Linked DNA regions of Homo sapiens: all the other regions are linked to region 1. Evidence: promoter capture Hi-C in 16 types of primary human blood cells and fetal thymus (Javierre and others, 2016). All regions are on one chromosome and are shown on one strand. Each heading gives the region's core, a stretch centred on a gene start or on the middle of the fragment in contact. The rest is flanking DNA. Distances are from core to core; before and after follow the strand shown.

The links. Contacts are between HindIII fragments. The CHiCAGO score rates a contact against its expected background, and 5 or more counts as called.
Region 2: a fragment that was not itself captured here is called in contact with the fragment with the promoter of JAG1 in region 1 in 1 of 17 cell types (endothelial precursors); the score reaches 5.2 in endothelial precursors.
Region 3: a fragment that was not itself captured here is called in contact with the fragment with the promoter of JAG1 in region 1 in 3 of 17 cell types (endothelial precursors, M1 macrophages and M0 macrophages); the score reaches 7.1 in endothelial precursors.
Region 4: a fragment that was not itself captured here is called in contact with the fragment with the promoter of JAG1 in region 1 in 4 of 17 cell types (M1 macrophages, M0 macrophages, M2 macrophages and 1 more); the score reaches 6.7 in M1 macrophages.
Region 5: a fragment that was not itself captured here is called in contact with the fragment with the promoter of JAG1 in region 1 in 2 of 17 cell types (monocytes and M1 macrophages); the score reaches 7.6 in monocytes.
Region 6: a contact is called between a fragment that was not itself captured here and the fragment with the promoter of JAG1 in region 1, in 4 of 17 cell types (endothelial precursors, M2 macrophages, M1 macrophages and 1 more). The highest score is 13.0, in endothelial precursors.
Region 7: a contact is called between a fragment that was not itself captured here and the fragment with the promoter of JAG1 in region 1, in 4 of 17 cell types (M2 macrophages, M1 macrophages, endothelial precursors and 1 more). The highest score is 15.9, in M2 macrophages.

Annotation. Positions count from the first base shown.
Region 1 is chr20:10,672,701-10,675,400 of GRCh38, forward strand. It overlaps JAG1 (jagged canonical Notch ligand 1), which reads right to left and starts at 1,299. Exons shown (of 26, transcript NM_000214.3): 1 at 750-1,299; 2 at 1-306. The coding sequence starts at 830. RefSeq lists a silencer at 1,522-1,921. The HindIII fragment of the contact is 5,598 bases long and covers 1-2,700 here.
Region 2 is chr20:11,304,044-11,306,813 of GRCh38, forward strand. No RefSeq gene overlaps it. Among named protein-coding and RNA genes, the nearest start is that of LINC02871, 280 kb to the left of the region's middle. The HindIII fragment of the contact is 254 bases long and covers 1,379-1,632 here.
Region 3 is chr20:11,223,815-11,226,620 of GRCh38, forward strand. No RefSeq gene overlaps it. Among named protein-coding and RNA genes, the nearest start is that of LINC02871, 200 kb to the left of the region's middle. The HindIII fragment of the contact is 3,439 bases long and covers 1-2,806 here.
Region 4 is chr20:11,245,615-11,248,314 of GRCh38, forward strand. No RefSeq gene overlaps it. Among named protein-coding and RNA genes, the nearest start is that of LINC02871, 220 kb to the left of the region's middle. The HindIII fragment of the contact is 2,357 bases long and covers 178-2,534 here.
Region 5 is chr20:9,981,334-9,984,033 of GRCh38, forward strand. No RefSeq gene overlaps it. Among named protein-coding and RNA genes, the nearest start is that of PARAL1, 3.6 kb to the right of the region's middle. The HindIII fragment of the contact is 2,010 bases long and covers 405-2,414 here.
Region 6 is chr20:11,282,791-11,285,490 of GRCh38, forward strand. No RefSeq gene overlaps it. Among named protein-coding and RNA genes, the nearest start is that of LINC02871, 260 kb to the left of the region's middle. The HindIII fragment of the contact is 2,677 bases long and covers 1-2,618 here.
Region 7 is chr20:11,263,525-11,266,224 of GRCh38, forward strand. It overlaps LOC124904960 (a long non-coding RNA gene), which reads left to right and starts at 2,519. Exons shown (of 2, transcript XR_007067724.1): 1 at 2,519-2,608. The HindIII fragment of the contact is 2,680 bases long and covers 31-2,700 here.

The DNA of each region.
Region 1 (2,700 bases), core at 49-2,548:
CGGCCAGGCGAAACTGAAAGGCAGCACGATGCGGTTGCGGTCGTTGCCGCGGCTGGCCTTGAGGTTGAAGGTGTTGCCCCCGATGACAGGCGTGGACCCTGAGCCGAAGCTGCAGGGCCCCCCGGCCGTGACGCGGGACTGATACTCCTTGAGGCACACTTTGAAGTATGTGTCACACTCGTCGCGGGTGCACTTGCGGTCTCCCGGGTTCCGGGCGCCGCCGCAGCAGTTCCCGTTCTGCAGCTCCCCGTTCACGTTCTGCATGGACAGGATCTCCAACTCGAACTGACCCGAGGCCCCACACACCTGCCGGCGAGGGAAGGAGGTAGGTCAGCGCGGGAGAAAGCTGTTTTCTTCGAGTATAGAGGTGGCGACTCCCTCCCACTCCCCGCCCCGACGAGCCCTCCTCGCCGAGTGAAAATAATTTTGCGAAACTACGTTCAAGGACTCAACATGATTCCGGGGCAAAAAAAAAAAAAAATGCACGAGTGCGGAAGAAATCCGACGACTTCCCGGGGGGCAACAGCGGAGCGAACGCGCCCCTGTCCGGCCTGGAGGGGTCACCCTCAGGAGGCAGGGGCTCCCGTGGGGGAGTTGGCGCGCTCAGCCCAGGTGCAGCCGCTCGGGCGCAGGGGCGAGGAGTCGGGCGCTCGAGGGCTGCCGAGCCTGCTCGCGGGGCTCAACCGCCCAGGGCGCCGCGAGGGGAGGGAGAGGACGGCTGGGAGGGAGGCCCGGAGAAGGGCTCCTACCTTGGCTCGCAGGGCACAGAGCAGGGCGAGCAGGAGGCTTAGGGGGCGCCCGGACCGGCCGCGCGTCCGTGGGGAACGCATCGCTGCGCCGCGCGCCGCGGGCACTCGGGACGCCGCCGCTGCTGTTCGCGCTGGTGCTGCCGCCGGTGCTGCCGTCGCCGCTGCCCCTGCGGCCGCCGCGTCCCGGCTCTAATATACTCCGCCGATTGGAGCATGCACGACTGGAAAACAACACCACTTTTCAAAAGCCCTTTCAAGAGCGGCCCGTTCCAGAAGGCAAAGAGCCCGGCCTCCTTTTATTATTCTGATCGCTTCTTTGAGACGCTCCCCCTCCTCTTCCACCTCCCGGCTTTCTTTCCTTCTCTCGCGCTCCCCTTCTTTTATTATTATGATTATGCGCAGCCTTTTATTCCCTTTTAGATCAGCTGCATGGAAAAAGGGGGGAGGGAGGGGAGAAAAAAAAAAACCAGCCTAGCTCGCGGGCCGGCCGCAGGTAACACAATGACGCGTGCCCGCCCGGCTCTCGGAGAAGGACCCGGAGAGCCCGTCTGGCAGCAGCGGCCGGGGCTGGCCACCTCTACCCAGCACGCCGGGCAGGGCGCATGCGCGCTTATTAATATTCATGAGAGGGCGTGCTCACCCTGGGCACGCCCCTCCCCTTCACGTTGCTGGGGAGGGGGTAGTGCGAGGAGGAACTTGGAAGGGGTTGGGGGCAGCGGGATGCTCAGGGCGGCGTAGAAGAACCAGGGCCCCACACCAACCCCCGCCCTCGGGAGCTTCGGGCCAGGAGGGAAGGGAGAGTGCGGGGAGGTACTTGGAAGGGATCGTTGCTCAGGGACGCCTGGAGGCCCCCAGCGGGGACCGCCCCCTCGGGCGCCCCGGGCCGTGCGCCTTTGCCCGCGCGTCGGGGCCCCAGGTGTAGGCGCCGCGGCGCTGACTGAGCGGTCGGAGCGGGGCAGCTTCCGCCTTCCGAACCGCCTGCGTCAGCTGCGGCTTTCGCCCCGGGAGGAGGGCCTGCCTGCCCGCCGGGAGTTCGGCCCGCTTCCCGCGAGCGAGCCGCCCAGAGCGCTCTGCTGGCGGCAGAGGCGGCGGCGAGGCTGGCGCGCTTGCCGCCGTCTGCTCGCCCCGCGGAGGCGACCTGGGCAGACGCTGCTGGGAACTTTGAAAAACTTTCCTGGAGCCAGGCTTGCCGCAGATTCGAGGGGAAGCCTCGGCCGCGTCCCACCCCCTCCCAAATCCGAGTCTGCGGAGCCTGGGAGGGCTCCCAGCTTCCTATCCAAACCGCGCCGGGGCAGAGGCGCGGGGAAACCGGGGGTAGAAGGCGGCGGGCACGCCGGGGCCCTGTTCAGGCTTTGGGAAGGGCCGGCGGAGATGCTGGTGGGCTTGGACGCCCTCCCCGGCCCGACGCCCCGGCCGCAGTGCCGGGATTGCACCTGTAGGCGGCCTCCGAGCAGCTCTCTGGGTGGCAAGAGATGGGCCTGGGAGGGACCGTGTCCCCAGCACCGCCAGCCGCGGAACTTGCCTTCTCTGGGGTGGCAGTGGAAACCGATACTGTTTTCCACCTTGAGGCAAGCCTCGCAATTAACAGCTACACTCCTGGTCATAATCAAGGTCGAAGAAAGCCCGTGGGCTGGCCGTAGCCTCTGCTAACCCCTCTCCCACGGGCTTGCTGTTGCATTTGAGGGGACCTTTATATGGAAACATCGACTTCCTTTGAAGGGTGGACAAAGTTTTGGCCCTAATAGTAGGTATGTCCTGCAGAAAAGCGTGACTATTCAGCGGCCGGTTTGGGGCTTGAGTTCTCCTGGGTGTGGGGCGTGATGGGCTGGCAATAGGTCAAGGGAAAATAGTTTCCAACATGCTGAGTTATGAGCATAAAAGGGTGGGTATTTGTGGTTATCTACTTATTGCATTTGATGGGAGGCTCAGTATGAACAATATTTTCAGTGCC
Region 2 (2,770 bases), core at 256-2,755, 630 kb after region 1:
CTTTATTGTATGTGTTCATAAATGTGTGGACAAAATGTTTTGCGATCTTGACGGCTTTTGTACAAACATCAGTTGTTTCTTATATTATAATTATCATCCTAATCGTTATAATGTCTAGGCCAACTGTACTACTGAATTAATATTCTAAGACTCAGGAATAGCTGATGCAATCAAATGAAGATGGGTGAAAAATAAAAATGGCACACATTTCCTAAAAACCATGTGTTATTAACTGAACTAAATTAATTATGCCCTACTTTAGGTTATTTGGGTAGATGGTGGCAGCCACTAAAAAGAGTTCGAGGTAAGTGAGTGTTAGTTACTCTCCCACAACTTCACTGCCAGGCTATATAATAAAATCAGGCCTTAAACCAAATTTCATCACACATGTGGACATTAATTTATAAAAGCAGTTCATAAAACTTGTCTATAAATTTGATGACATTCCAGCTCTCTGTTCTTGTAGGTGCCCCAACCACTACTTGCATGTTAGTTCATTTCAGGGAGACATAACATTCCAGAGATCTTTTCTTCTGGAATTGGGCTCAGGTATCCTCTAAAACTAATGGCTGGATACAGCATCACTTAGCAACTGAGCCCTCTATTTATACTCAATGAATTCAAATTCTCTGTTTATGTATGATTGGGAATGTATCTAATATATCTATAGTCTTCAATTTTGCCCATTTCTGGTACTCACCTTGCTTGTCAACAAGCCACTTGCTTTCACCAATATTTCTCACATTCAGTTTACTGACTAGAAAAGCCACGATCAAGATAGAGGTAAGAGATGAGCTTGTGGCAGCTGCCCCTGCAGTCTGGCACTCTGTGATTAGTGCCAACCCAGCACCCCTGGGATCTGCATTTTTGATTAGGATAATTGACTATCACTAGAGATAAAACTGAAACTAACTGACAAGCACATAATATCACACTGAAAATGCTGATGCACTTTGACACATCTCATGGGTATGGTAATGCCATGTCACTTGGGAATTAGATCTTCATTCGTACTGTCTCCAAACATCATTCAGAGCTCTCCTTGGAGCTCTTTATCATACCACTAACTATTTTCATGGTGACATGTTCGATAATGTGGCATAGAAATACATATTCCATGCTTGATGCAACCTCAAAATTCAAATTTTAAAAAGCCATTTCAGTTTTAGACATACCTCTGTAAGGTGTGGATGTTAGGCTAGATTTCTATGCAAAGAAAGGTAACAAGAATTGGGGGTACATTAATTTCCAGATATCTTGATAACCTGGCAGAGGTCCTAGCTGCAGAGTTAACTTCTTCCCTGGCAAGAAGGAAGGTATTTTATGAGACTGATTGGGTTGGATCTTGCTGTAGCTCATTGCCTGGGAGGAAACAGAAAGCTTTGTGTCTCTCAGGTATACACCCTTCAACAGTCAAACTCCTTTTCTGACCCATGGAGATGTGGTAACTTGCAGCAGCTCTAAACCAGGATTATGACTCCCACGCTGACATTAGCAATTGATTGAAATGCGGTTTCAGGCTAGGGCAGGAGGAAATAGCACAGAACAATACAGCCAAGTTCATTGTGCTAACTGCACTGCAGCTCCCTGAGAAGCAGGTGTGAGCTGAATAGAAAGGATATTATTGGCTCAAGCTTCCTCTGGGTGGTGTAGAAAGGAGAGCATGTGGTATATCTATCAACCTCACCTGACTCATAACTGATTTCCCCCATTTTTTTCTCAAATTCAGTCCTCTTCCCTCTCCTTTCTCTCTCTGTCTCTCTCTGTCTCTCCCTCTCTCTCTCGTTTTACCTGTCTGATTGGCAGTTGTTCAGATTTCCATAGAAAAACATTGGGGAAATAGTGCTCCAGAATCCAAACAAATGTAGCTCCCATCTCAAAACACAAAGCGGGAAGAATTGACTCATAGGCAGTGCCGAAGTTGGGAAGTAGAAGGAGAAAGGAAAGAATGAAAAACTTTTGTGGGCTTGTTCTCTGCCAACCCAAATGTAGACGCTTTATATTTGTTAATACATGTGTCTCACAAAATCCCTGGTGGTTAGGGATCAGTATCACAATTCAATAGGTGAAAAAAAAACTGAAGATCAAGGTATTTAAGTAACTTACCTATAGTGCCCAGGTGGTAAATGATGGAAATGGGATTCAAGACCAAGTTCCTTCATTCAAGCAAGCGGCTCCATCATCCTCTTCCTTTTCATCACCTGCTCTTGTGACAGCAACTGTGCTTGATTTGCTTTATTCATTCAGCTAATATTTATTAGGCAAAAGTTATACGACAGACACTGCATGGTAGGGACTGAAGAGTTGCTGGTGCATTTTCTATTAAACACTCATTTCCTTTCGTTTTGCTTTGGAGAGCCTCTTTTCCTGAAACCCTGGTTCATGTGGATTGAGTGGGCCTAATTCTTTTTTTTTTTTAAGATGGAGTCTCACTCTATCGCCCAGGCTGGAGTGCAGTGGCGCCATCTCAGCTGAGTGGGCCTAATTCTGTCCTGTGGATCTGGAGGCAGTCAACATTCCTGGCCACATAAATTGGTTCAGTGATATGGATGTGAACCAATCCATATCATTGAGTATTAGGCAAGGAACTTTTTCTTTTTCTCTGAAACTATTAGAAAAGAAAAGCATTTTTTGTTAGGATAGCTAAGGTGATGGAACTTAAACCTAGACTGCTGCTAGCCATCTTTCTGAAACATGGCAAGGGATTTCTTGAGAATGAAGTGCAGATGGGAAAAGTGCAGAGCCAAGAGATGAGGAGAAAGCACCATTT
Region 3 (2,806 bases), core at 204-2,703, 550 kb after region 1:
GATTTTGAACTTTATTCTGCTTTTTTTTTAAAAAAATGGAAAGATGGTTAAAGGTTAATTTCAAAATAAAGGTAGATGCAATTGTGGGTAGATGAGGGAATCACGTCCTAGGCATGATTAGTAGGCACAGGAAGAGTTCCTAGAAAGATAGGGAAGAGAGATGAAGGGACTTTGAAAGACATTTCCTAGATATCTTCTGTTCTGCTTTTTAAATTCATCTCCTCACCTAGCTGTGTTATTTAATTTCTTACATACGATTCCACTAGGCCTCAGCTCTGGGAAAGAAGTTATCCATTAAAACCCAGTGATTAATTGATTCAGTGTCCAAGATTGCTGTCTGTCTGGGCCAGCCAGATTTTATATTGATGAAGACTTTAATTCCAAATTACATCTGCACAACACAGTGTTCTCAGAAAAAGAAGGTAACATCCAAAGTGAATGCACCTTCCAGGTGCAACTGCATTTGAAGATAGCGGGATCAAGGCTTCTATCTTTATTGGAATCAAGTTAATTCAAAATACTATCAAATCTCAGGGCTCAATCAATAATAGCTACTTTACTCCCGGGAGACAGGTTTCAATTAACCTTCAAGGAAGCTCACTTTGGTTTTTGTTCTGTGTTTATTTATTTTTTTCTATTCTCTTCCATATTATTAGTTAGGAGTAATGATCTCCCTTTTTCCATATGGGTAGAAAGGGGCTCTTGGCTGTACTCACAGTCAGTGATAAGAGGAGGAGTCAATAATAGCTCAGTAGTGGACCATGTAAGGAGACACTTTGAGATCCGGCATTGTCCTGATATAAGTGAAGATCTTTATTCAAGTACTGATTTTACCTTTCAGGAATCTCCTCTCTCTCTCCACCCTCCCCTAGAAGTCCAGTACATTTATATTGCCGCTGAATTCCGAGCTTTCTACCTGATATAGTGTTTCAAGGTCATCCCCCAAATAATAGACCAATTGTTTCCTCATCTGTCCTCTTTACCATCCCAACACATGCCCAGACATCCATGTGCTGCCCCAAATTAAAGCTATTATTCAACAATTGCTTGGGAAGGATTTGGGCAACTAATTTCGTAAAGAGTACTCATGGCTTAGTCTGACAGGGATTTGCATTGCATAAAAAAAAAATATGTGACATTTAAGACATACAGGAGAGGCTACGGTGGAAGGGATTTTGCATGTGGAAAGTGTTGAGTGATAAGAATTGATCAAAAATGAAATTTAGAGTGGGCGTCTATTGTGTCGTATCAAAGAAAAGGTATTATATGTAGTTAGAAGGCAGAAAGAAGTGGCATTAGGAAACTCTGAAGAAATGCTGTCAGACTTTGTGGAGACAGAGGGCACCCACAAAAGAAGAAAAAGGAAGCAGAACTGAGGACTACTTTGCATTTGTTTAGACACAATTGTAAAGGGTGCCAAGAACATGGTGTGAATCTGAACAAACAGAGTGGGGTGCCCAAGTCAGTGATGAACTGGATGCACCTTCACTGATGATAATGATGATAATGGCTGGAGAATGAGAGAACCACAGGCAGAGGAAAGAAGCAGCAATCAGAGGTGCTGTGACCAGCCTGGAGGTTGGTGGGGAACTCACAACCCCATGGCTCTCCACAAATAATTCTTTTCACTGGTCGCTCCCTTTCTACTCCCTGATTCATCTCATCTCTTTCATGAAAGTGAGGGGTCCCATGATGTGAAACGATCTCTTGTAGCCATTTCTTTTGAAACTCTGCACATTCAAGTTTGGCTTCTAACTAACCAGCCTCTGAGCACCTTCGTGGCTTTGCCACCAAGCAGCTTTTCAGCCACCAGAGGGATTTCATCTACTTAGGCCTTGTCTAATCTACAAATAAGGGTAGACTAATATAACGCAGGAAGGTTAGACTTCCTTCACCATAAAATATGTGATGAGTTTCACAGGTTCTGATGTTTAAAAATAAAAATACTTGAGAGATATTTGAAAACCAAAGATCTGGAGCAACCAAAACAAACCTTTAGGTGGTCCCAGTCATTCTGCTTCTGTTAATGAAATTGTTCTTGGCCATAAATAATTTCTGATTTATTGAAGATCTCTTTCCTATAATAATCAGGCTGAACCCTCATCTCTTGATATGTTGCTGCTATGATGGCATAGAAAGGACCAGAAGTATCAGCCAAAGGGAGAGAGAAATGATGTCCATGATAAAGGTTTTATCTTGATTTTACAATAAGTTTGTGGGGGAAGGAAAGAGGTTTCAGTTCACACTAGCAAGCAGTAATAGTAAATGGTAACCTTTTAACATAGCACTTACAATGTGCCAAGCACCAGGCATACAAGAATTCATTCCATTCTCACAGCAAATTCTATAAAATAGGTATTAGAGCCCCATTTTACAGATAAGGAGACTGAAGCACAGAGTAGTCAAGTAGGTTGACCAAGATTATGCAACTATTAAGAGATAAACCTAGGATTTAAAACCAGGAATCTGTGACTTGATTCAATGGGCATAAGATGATGGTAGGATCATTCACTTTTAAATGTCTTGGTAAATATATTATTAGGACAGAGAAATTTCTCCTGCATGTCAGTTCCCTTAAGATCAGGCTACTAAACATTCAGATTACATTCCCAAACGACACTGCAGAAGATCTGGATTGCTAATTAATCTAAGAGTTGGCACTGTATGGGAAACTAATAAAAAGAGTTCTGGTAAATTCTGTTTTACTTTTTCTGATCTTGTAATTACTCTGGCATGAGAAGTGCCTATAGAAAAAACTATTTTAGAAATCACTAATATATTACATTTAGTATTACTTTTAACTTTA
Region 4 (2,700 bases), core at 106-2,605, 570 kb after region 1:
TAGGAAATAACTTTTAGGGATGACCTTCAAGACAATAACCACTTGTTGGAAGTGGAAGTCATGAGCTTGTCCAGTGGTACAGAACATTTTTCTCTCATTGAGAGTTTTGAAAATCTGTTGCCTTTATGTACAATAGAGATTATAGGTACAATAGAGAGAAGAATGGCATGCATCTCAAGCTTCAATCTCAAGAATTTATCTGGCATTAGTGAGCAGTACAATCTTATCTTCTCTTTAATTTTGTCTTTTTTGAACTAACTTCTCTCATTGTTTGATAAATTATATGGTTTGATTGTGTATGTCACATGAAAATATATTTGAAAGATATTTAGATTCCTCTTTGGAATTAAGTAAAAGAAGCATTTGGCTATAAACATGTGGTAACTGGGTCTGAGGTCATGTACATACATTCTTTTCTAGTTGCAGCCAAAATCAGGTTTGGGGGTTTCTGATGAGCTCTTTTGTGGTTATTGTTATTAAAGAAAAATGGATCTTTCTGCTGCATGCTTAGAAAACCAGATATTATCACCACTTGATTATTTACTTACTGGTACAGCTTGTTTCACTTATTAAAGAAAAGACAAGGTTGAAATTGGATCTATTCAATGCATGTTCGTGGCTTTATGTGTCTGTAGATAATAAGCAGCCTTGGGTGTTTGTTCAGGGTTGACTTTCTAGGCTATAATTGGCATCATTTTGATTTTTCTTTGGATGAGCCCACATCGTTATGGAGTCTGTAGCTTTAAATAAGAAAACACCTACAAAAATGAGAGGGGCAAAATGTTCCCTTTGGAAGCAGTAGGGGAGGGGGCAGGAAGGGGAGGCTTTTGTTCACTCATGGAAAATGGACGTGTGTCTCATGGTAGCCGCAGTTTAAGTAAACATAAACTCTGAACCAGAGATCATACCCGCCATTTCCTCAGCACTAGCAATACCAAACCAAAATATAGTTTTATTTGGCTAACCCCAAAGTAGGATGTGGGTGCCAGCCTTGAAAACCACATGATCGGGTTTCCAGCAGACACCACCAGGGCTATGCTTTTGTCTTAAGCAAGAAAGTCACAAAGGCAATACTCCTTGTAGTACCATCATTATGTTTAGCAAACAGATGCAACCATAACAACAGTTAACTTCAGAGACAACAGTTCACTACAGAAAAAGGTCAAGAGGGTCTTTTACTCTTCATGCGTAGAATCTGAGCTATCCCATATTACAACTCTATTGAGAGAAGAGGCATTAAAAGAGAGACAATGAGAACCTAGGGCATAGGCTCAGGTAGTGGGGCTGGGTGGGGAAAGAATCCTCCCATCTTCTTATGAGTTCTAGAGTCGGCCAATCTGGAATCCATGTTTAGAAGCATCACCTTGACTTCTGTGGAAAGTCGTTTTTTCCAAACAGTAATCCAGCAATGAGCAAAGCATTAAATTGTGATTTTGACATGTCCTCATTTTGTCTTTTCTCTTATAAAGAAGATTCTTCAGGGCCCAGGGTCATTCCAGTCATCCCAAGTTCGGTAAGCATCCAGTCAGGGCTTGCTGTTTCAGAGGTTTTCATGGTGTGGTTTCATTTATTTATTTACCATGAAGCTGTTGTTTTTCTCCCTTCTCTGGAGCCAGGGAGGGAGGGGCAGATGATAGAGTTGGGTGCCCTGAGTTAATGACTAGCCCTATATTCACAAGCTCATTTACTTTTGTCCTCACCTGGCGCCTCAATGCTGCCAATGAGTGGGAATTAATTTTATTGAGGGCCACTCAGTTCCTTAAAAGAAAACTGCTCACTTGGCTGGAAATGCTTTGACAGAAGGTAGAGCAGCCGGTCACATTTGAACACTGTGTCTTCTAGATTTGGGGGCAGAGGGGGAGTGGCAGATTCAGAGGGAGAGGGGACCAAGCAGTCATTTCACATGAGCTATTATGGGGTGGCCGGAATCCCAGCAGAGTCCATCAACAGACTCTCGTGCTAAAGACACAGCCTGTTGTCTCTTTATCTGCCACTCCCCACTAAATCTGTGCATGACCCCCCAGCACCCTTCTCAACAATCAGCTGCCCGTAAGAAGGTAATCATCTTATGGTGAATTGGAGAAGAAGAAAAGACACTCTAGGAAAATGTTATGATAATAGAAAACTCTTCAGTGTTGTAACCATCTGGTGTGCTACGGTGACAAAGAAGCCGATAATTGAGTGCCCAATAACTTCTTTTGGCCTGAGATAATGGGCACTCACCCTGATTTGTGTTCTTCACAAGAGTAATTCGCCATCATTTCACACCACATCTGCACCCCATTTCCTCCATCAATACAGCCTTACACATAAGTTACCACACTTAATTAAGTCCACATCATTCTCCTCCAAAGAACAGAAAAGTTTGAGCAGATCCCCGAGTGGCCGAGAGGCACAAATGAGGTTTTAGTGACTCTTGTTTGGTGGGAGAAATGGAGATTGATGAAGAGCTCATGCCACCAAGGTTTGGCTCCCGGGTGGGGCAGGGTAGGGCTGCGTCTCCACAGCTCTTGGCTGGGCAACAGCTGTGGATAAGCTTAGGCAGGCAGCCCTGTGGCCAGGCATGCTAGGGGAGGGGATGCAGACCCCATTGTCACATAATCTTGCTTTTGAAATTGTGCTACAATTCATTCCATTTGATTTCTAAGGTGCTGTCACCAGAGCATCATTAAAAGTCCTTTAAGAAACTGGAGAATAGAC
Region 5 (2,700 bases), core at 160-2,659, 690 kb before region 1:
CTTAGTAGCTTACAACAAGAAACAGTTTTCTTTCTTTCTCATTTTACATGTCAATCACAGATTGACTTAGGCTCTTTATCTCAAGCCCATGCGGGCTGAATGAGCAGCCCCTACCTGGGACCTACCAGGCCCCTGGCTGTGAGAAGAAAATGATGTGAAACCACAGAGTGGTTCTTAGAGCTTTTGCTCAGAACTGGCTTCTGACATTTCTGACCACATTTCATTGGCCAAAGCAAGCCTGATGTCAATGGGGAAGGAAAGTTTAATCCTTTATAAGGATGGAGAGTCCCCTAATATTGGGAATGATAATACAATGATCAGACTTACTGAATTACATTATATTAGGCATAAGGAGGCTCCTATCTGAATAAATTAATAGGGTGAAAATACAAGCAAGCTGTAGAAGCTTCAACTAACTCTATAAAAGAAATATTCAAGGAGTCTAAGCATTGAAACTCTTTTCTACTTTTCTCAGCAGTGGCACAGTGAAAAAAATTAAAAGTCATTTCAGGGCATGGTAGTTGACTTGAGAGGGCAGGAAACATAGCCCAGGGAGCTGCTGAGCCCAGAGTGGAATTGCTCCTCCTTCAGCAGCTATAAAGCATGGGCCAGGTCGTACAGCTCCTTATTTAGTAACATTGGCAAAAATCCAGGCTTCATTTATAAGTCACTGCATTGCAGTTCTTTTGGAGTACGTTACCAGGACTTCATAAAGATTGATTGAGTTCTGGGAAGCCATTGGGTTGAAAGTCCAGATGTACATAAATCAAGTTATAGCATCATTTAATTCACAATGTATCTGCCCAAGTCATTTTGGGGTGGAAGTGAAAAGATTTATAGTAAGTCTTATGGGATTTGATGATCTGAAAAGTAAGAGATATTAAATGGGTGATTTAGCTGCAAGAGTTAACTGCAGTAGTTTAAAATTGACTCAAGTCTTCATTGCTACTGGTTTAAAATGCATCTTAAATAATTGGAAGTATATTTTGGGAGCTCTTTAGGGTGAAGAGTTAAACGTGATTTTTGGCAGTCAAAAATAAGATCTGATTTATATTCAGAAAAAACTCATCCATCAATAAAATATATGTCAGCAAACTACTTTATATCTTAAAGCACTGTTCTCTACCACACTTAGTTCAGATCTAAAAACTTTTACATAAATCTGTTCTATGATAAGAACCCAAAGTTCTTGAACTTGATAAAAAGAATTTCTGTGATCCTTTTAGTCTTGAGCCACAAATCAATCTACAATTGAAATCACACTTGCTTTTATGTGGAAGGACATGAAAAGCCACAATCCCAATTCATGCCCTCATGGTCTCTCACTAGCCAGGCACCTGGAGATCCAAATCTGTAGAGTAGGTGAAGTTTGCTATAATCTTCTCTGAGCCCAACTGTTCTGTATTGCTTTCTTTTTTTTGAATTCTTTTTTTTTTTTTTCAATGACAGCCTCCCTCTGTCTCCCAGGATAGAGTGCAGTGAGGACTCCAGTGATCTTCCCACCTCAGCCTCCGGAGTAGCTGGGACTACAAGCATGAGCCACCATGCCCGGCTTATTTTTTTATTTTTTATAGAGACCAGGATCTCACTATGTTTCCCAGGCTGGTCTCAAACTCCTGGAATCAAGTGATTCTCCAGCTTTGGCATCCCGAAGTGGTGGGACTACAGGCTCCTGACACCGGGCCTGGCCTTCAATTTCATGATGTTTCTTAATGCCTCAATTCCCCTTTCCTCTTTTCCTATCTTTTAATCTTTTCTATCTTTCCTTTCAAAATCTATTCTTTAAAAGAAGTTATTTTTAATTAAAATTTACCATCAGGTACCTTAAAGGCTGAGGAAATTTAATCTATTAGCATAGGCAATTGTATGCAAGTATCAGTAGAAAACAAAGTTTTGGCCAAAGGAAGGATGATCTAAAGGGAAATTAAGACAACTGAAAGTGAAAGTGGGATATATTCCTCTCTTTTTAAAATCACACAGTGGAGCATATTTAAAAACAAGTATTCAAAAGGACAGTTGATTAATACGGATGTTACATTTCTGTCTGCTCCTCTGACAATTTTACAGGCATTTTTGATGGAACAAATTCTTAAAGGAACAGAGTTTTCTCCCTCATAATGAAGAGTACTTCATTATGAAAGACTGAACTCAATATTTTTTCCAATTAATACTAATATTTATTTAGTTTTACTTAATGTTCCTGAGAAATGTTGACTCTACATTTGATTTTATTAAATGTTGCATGTGAATTTACTTTCCTTCAATCTTTAAAAATTGCAGTTAGAAAAATCTAGATTCTTTCCCTGCCTTTGTTACTTCTCTAGAAGTACTGTGAAATTAGGGAGTTGAATTTGAGGTAATACTTGAGGGTGTTCAATTCTGAAATTCTCCATTGGTTCTTTTAGTTGAGGACAAGCTTCTTTAGTGAGAAAAATTACTGCCAAATTTATCTCTTTGTTAAATTGGAGCATGTGTGTATTACTTAAGCATAAAGCTAAGTACACTGTATTAACCATTGCAATGCCATTTTCTACTGGCTATTAAAAATTATTATTTAATGTAATATGTGGAAAACTACCCAGTGATTTCTAAAACTGGATCTTAAGTTTAAAAAATGCACTATTGATTACTATAATACATTTTAAAATCTAAATTTAATATCTAAAATGTAGAGTATAATACATTTCATATCTAAAATAT
Region 6 (2,700 bases), core at 30-2,529, 610 kb after region 1:
GAAAATATTTGTAAAATACACATAGGATAAGGGTTCATCTTCAAAATATAGGGGGAACACAAACAATTTAATACCAAGAAAACAACCCAATTAAAAGATGGAAAAAGGACCTGAATAGATATTTCTTAGAAGAAGACAAGCAAATGGCCAACAGGTATATGAAAAAGAGTGCAATATGATTTAATAGTCATCAGAGAAATTCAGATTAAATGCACAGTGAGATATGACTTTACACTGTTAGAAGGGCTATGATCAAAAAGACAAAAAATAGGCTGGGTGCAGTGGCTCATGCCTGTAATCCCAGCACTTTGGGAGGCCAAGGCAGGTGGATCACCTGAGATCAGGAATCTGAGATCAGCCTGGCCAACATGGCAAAACCCCATCTCTACTAAAAATACAAAAATTAGCCAGGCGAGGTGGTACACATCTGTAATCCCAACTACTCCAGAGGCTGAGACAGGAGGATGGCTTGAACATGGGAGGTAGAGGCTGCAGTGAGCCGAGATCGTGCCAACACACTCCAGCCTGGGCAACAGTGTGGAGAAAAGGGAACCCTTGCACATTGTTGGTGGGAATCTAAATTAGTACAACTGTTATGGAAAACAGTATGGCAGTTTCTCAAAAAATTAAAAATAGAACTACCATATGATCCAGCAATCCAATTCTGGGTGTATATCCAACACAAATGAAATCGTTATGTTGAGGAAATACCTGCTCTCCCATGTTCATTGCAGCATTATTTGCAATAACCAAGATGACAATTCAATCTAAGTGTTCACTGAGAGACAAGTGAATAGATTCATGCAGTGGATAATATTATTCAACCTTTAAAGAGAAGGAAATTCTGACATTTGTGACAACATGGATAAACATGGAGAACACTATTAACAAAAGATGCCAGGCACAGAAAGCCAAATACTGCTTAATCTCACATGTGGAATTTTTAAAAGTTGAAGAGTAGAACGATGGTTGCCAGGGGCTGGAGGAGGGATGGGGTCAAATGTTGGTCGAAGGGTACAAAATTTTAGTTATGCAGCATAAATAAGTTCTGGAGATCTATTGCACAGCATGGTGACTATAGTTAATAATAATGTAATGATAATGTATAAAATATTATGTACTTGAAAATTGCCAAGATAGTACAGCTAAATGTTCTCACCACTCACACAAAGATAACTATGTGAGGTGACATGATAGATATGTTAATCAGGTGATAGATTAATAGATTGATGGTGGCAATCATTTTGCAATGTATAATGTGTCAAAACTATCACATTGTACACTGTAAATATATGCAATTCTTATTCATCAATTATACCTGAAAAATGTGGAAAAAATAAATTAAAGAGTAGAAAGCAATGAAGTAAAGATCATTCATTACTTTAATGTTGCCATATGTGAAGATGAGGCTGAAGTTTCACACCGCGTGGGGCAGACATGAAACATTTGTACCCACATTTTTGGTATACAATCAGGAAGTGCGAAAAACAGAAGGGGGGATTGTGTAGATATTTCGGACATATGTCATCTACATAAACTATTGTTTTATTCAAATTAATTTAAACTAGCAGCATTTCTATCAATTTCCTTAAAACAATTCAAAATTCACTTTCTTGAGTAGCCTTTCTGTATTGCATTAATTCAAAGTTCATGATGCCCTCAATTTCATCTTTGATGTCTGATGTCATTATAACTGTACAGTAATAGGATTAATTATATCAACAGGCATACCTACATAAAAGTTTTCCCCTTCATATCTGGTGTCTTAAGAGGCTTTCCCGGTCATCTTACAATGCACTGAATCATTCATCGAAGAGTCTGGGGGATTCTAGTTAGCATATTTCATGCATGTATTTGACTTCCTTTAATGGTAGAAACTATGAGTTGATATATTACTAACAATTACAATCCATTCAGGGTCAAATCCAATGAATACAATAAATCAGCAACCCGTGGATATACCTGAATTTATAAATAAATATGACTTGATTTCTAGGACATAATAGATAATTTAATATAGCAATCTAATTTCACTTTATTTGAAAACCCTACAAAAAGCCTAAAAATGTATTTAATTTAAGATCAAATTTGCTCAAAAAGGAGAACAAAATTTATTCTATCCTATCTATCTAGCCACTACAAAATAAATTCACTCAGGAAAAATATTACTTTGGAATGCAATGTTAGATAGTTGGAGAAAGTGCCTTCACTTTTTAGATTAAGTGTAAAATTTTATATTAAGAGAGAAGCAAAATGAAGTTACACACAGGGAAGGTAAACGATTTTAAATCAATGTTTTTAGCCTTTAGTCACTGGTTTTGGAGATGTGTCCAGACTGTTTTTCTAAGATGTTTGAAACAGAGTTTGATATGTTAAATTTAAGAACAATGTATCTCAATCAATATTTAGAACTCTGGGGAACAAATTTGTTCAATTTATAATACTTTTACTCTTTATATTGTATGTCAATGAATAGAGAAATGAAACTTTGTCCTCAATTAACAAATTAGATATTGAAAACACATCATACTGATAATAATGATGTTAAAATATTGCCTTGAAATGATGTCATAGATTTTAATATAATAGTAATGCCAACAATTATAGTGATGAAAATAAGCTTAAAGTATTTGCTCATTTCCTTTGCAGCAGGCAAATGGGTCATGAATCCCCAAAACATCTTAAGCAGCAATAACATAT
Region 7 (2,700 bases), core at 121-2,620, 590 kb after region 1:
TCAGCAGCCTGCAGCTTGCCCTCTATAACAAGCTTGGCATGCTCCCACCTCAGAACCTCTGCCTTGGCCTTGCTCTTTGTCTAGAGTGCTCCTCCCACATGTATGCACATGGCTTCACATTCACACTCACTAATTCAAGCTCTGCCCAGAAGTCAACTTAGTGAAGCCTCCCCTGACCACCCTAGTGTATCCTTCAAACACATTAAATAATTCATTTATCAGTCAGGTGCAGTGGCTCCCGCCTGTAATCCCAGCACTTTGGGAGGCCGAGGTGGGCTGATGACCTGAGGTCGGGTGTTTCAGACCAACCTGGCCAACATGGTGAAACCCCATCTCTACTAAAAATACAAAAAATTAACTGGGCATAGTGGCGCATGCCTATGATCCCAGCTACTTGGGAGGCTGAGGCAGGAGAATCGCTTGAACCCGGGAGGCAGAGGTTGCGGTGAGCCGAGATCACGCCATTGCACTCCAGCCTGGGCAACAAGTGCAAAACTCTGTCTCAAAAATAAAATAAAATAAAATAAAATAATTCATTTATCATGTTTACATTTTATTGCGTGTCTTTTCTGTATAAGTTCTTTGAGGTGAGAAATCTTTGGCTGTTGTATTCTCTGAATATGTACAGCGGTGTCTGAGATATAGTAAACGCTCAATTAATATCTGCTGAATAAATAAATGATCATAGATGATAGCAGTGCAATTTGAGGTATATATTTCTGTTCTTTGTTAGTTAATTTGTCAGTCAGTACATCTCAAGTTTTAGACATTCTCCTAACTTGGGAATGAATAATCAAAAAGAAAAAATAACTAATTTGGAAAACAGGGAAAATGTATCTTTAAAGAGTAAGGAGACAATACTTTAAAAATAAATCAATCTATAACAGGAAATAGACTATATTTTAAAATACCTAGTCTGCAGGTAAATGATTATTTTAGTAAAAGCATTTACAGATTACTTCGCTTCTCTTTAAAGGTAACACCATATATTAATTCAGCAACCATATAAATATTAATTGAGTACTTTCTGTGTGCCAGGCACATGATGTTAGTGATGAGCCAGTGGCGCTTACATTGTCATGGAAAGACTAACAAAAACCAGCCAAACGAGTACATATAATGTCAGTTGGTGCTGACAGCTATAAAGAGAAACAATTAAAGTAAGCAATAATAAATTAAAGGGGTGCTGGGATGGTTAGCAAAGGCCTGTCTGAGATGGTGACATTTGCACAAAAGCATGAGTTAGGTTAGGTAAGAGTGCACCTTCAATAAAAAGAGTGCACCAGATAGAGGAAACAGCCAATGCAAAATTCTGCAGCAGGAATATGTCACCACGTTCAAAGAAAGGCAAGGTGTGATGAGGAAAATGAGAAGAAATGATATTGGAGTAGCCTTCAGGAATCAAGTCACCCTAAGGCCTTGTGGTTATAGGACTTACAGCTTTATTCTTGGAGCCAAGGTTGAACTGACATGATCAGTTCTGCATATGTGTGACATGATCTGGTATACACTTCAGGACTATTTTGACATTGGGGGGTAAGAGTATAAGCAAAGCAATAGGATGCATGGTATATGGAAGCCAGAAAGAAATCTGAGGCTATTCTCAATCTGGAAAGCAGCAATGAGCCACAAGAAAAAAGAGCTAAGTTGATTCAGCCCTATCTTGGAAAGATCAGACTCCAGATAGAAGTTTGCCTTCATCCTGGGGGCTGCTCTGTATGATGGTCAAGCTGGCATGTGTCTAGGGAGTGAACCAGACAGTAAGAAGAATGTACCTCTTGGAGTGAGGAACTCTCTGCTGTGTTGTGGATTCTGTCTCCACAAAAGCAGGATCCAAAAATATCTTGAGACATACTCTGGTTCAGGATGTAATGTCAGGATGCTCCACCAGGTTCCCAAAGTTACCTAAAACAGAGGGTCTTAATTGAGTTTGCTCCTTTCTTTGATTGGGGTTCCCAAAAGCCATCCCTGAGATAATATTAATATATTGGGGGAAGTAGAAGAAAATCAGAGATGGGAGAGGGAAAGGGAGAGAGAGAAAGGAAGGCAGCCCAGAAAGGATGTTTCACAAAATCAGCTACTGCTGTGAGCAAGTGGAACCTAGACTTGCTGGAGACTGCTGGAAAATGGGGTGAAGCACCTTTATCCTATCCAAGTGGCAAGGAAACCGGGTGTATATGCAAGACTCCTAGCAATCATTCATCTGGCCTGCCATGAGTGGCTAACCTAGACTTAGATACCAGAGACTGTCCTTAGGCAAAGAGTAAGTTGGGCTGCTCTGCCCTGAAGGAGTAAGGCAGGAACGAGTAAGGAGTAAGAGATGTAGAGATGGTACCCACAGTATCTGCTGCAACCACCCCTCAGGGAAATTGCTGTTCACTCAGGCTACCATACAAATAGCACCCCTTGGGGTTTTGCAACATGCATCTTGTTCATTCTCCCCCTTCTTGTCCCCCGCTCCAGTCCCATCTCTATGATATTTGTTGTGCAGGATGAATTCACGCTTCTCAACATCTAAGCCTTCGGCACACCCTTTGGTGGAATTCAAAGTTTCTGCGGAGCAGAGAGCAGTAATTAACAGTGAGACCTTATGATGAGCAAATCACAGGTCAGTAATAACTCAGTTCTTGGGGAATTCAGTCATGGGGAAGCAACAACTCATAGCTCAAAGTCAGATTCCCTTCTATTTGTAACAATTTC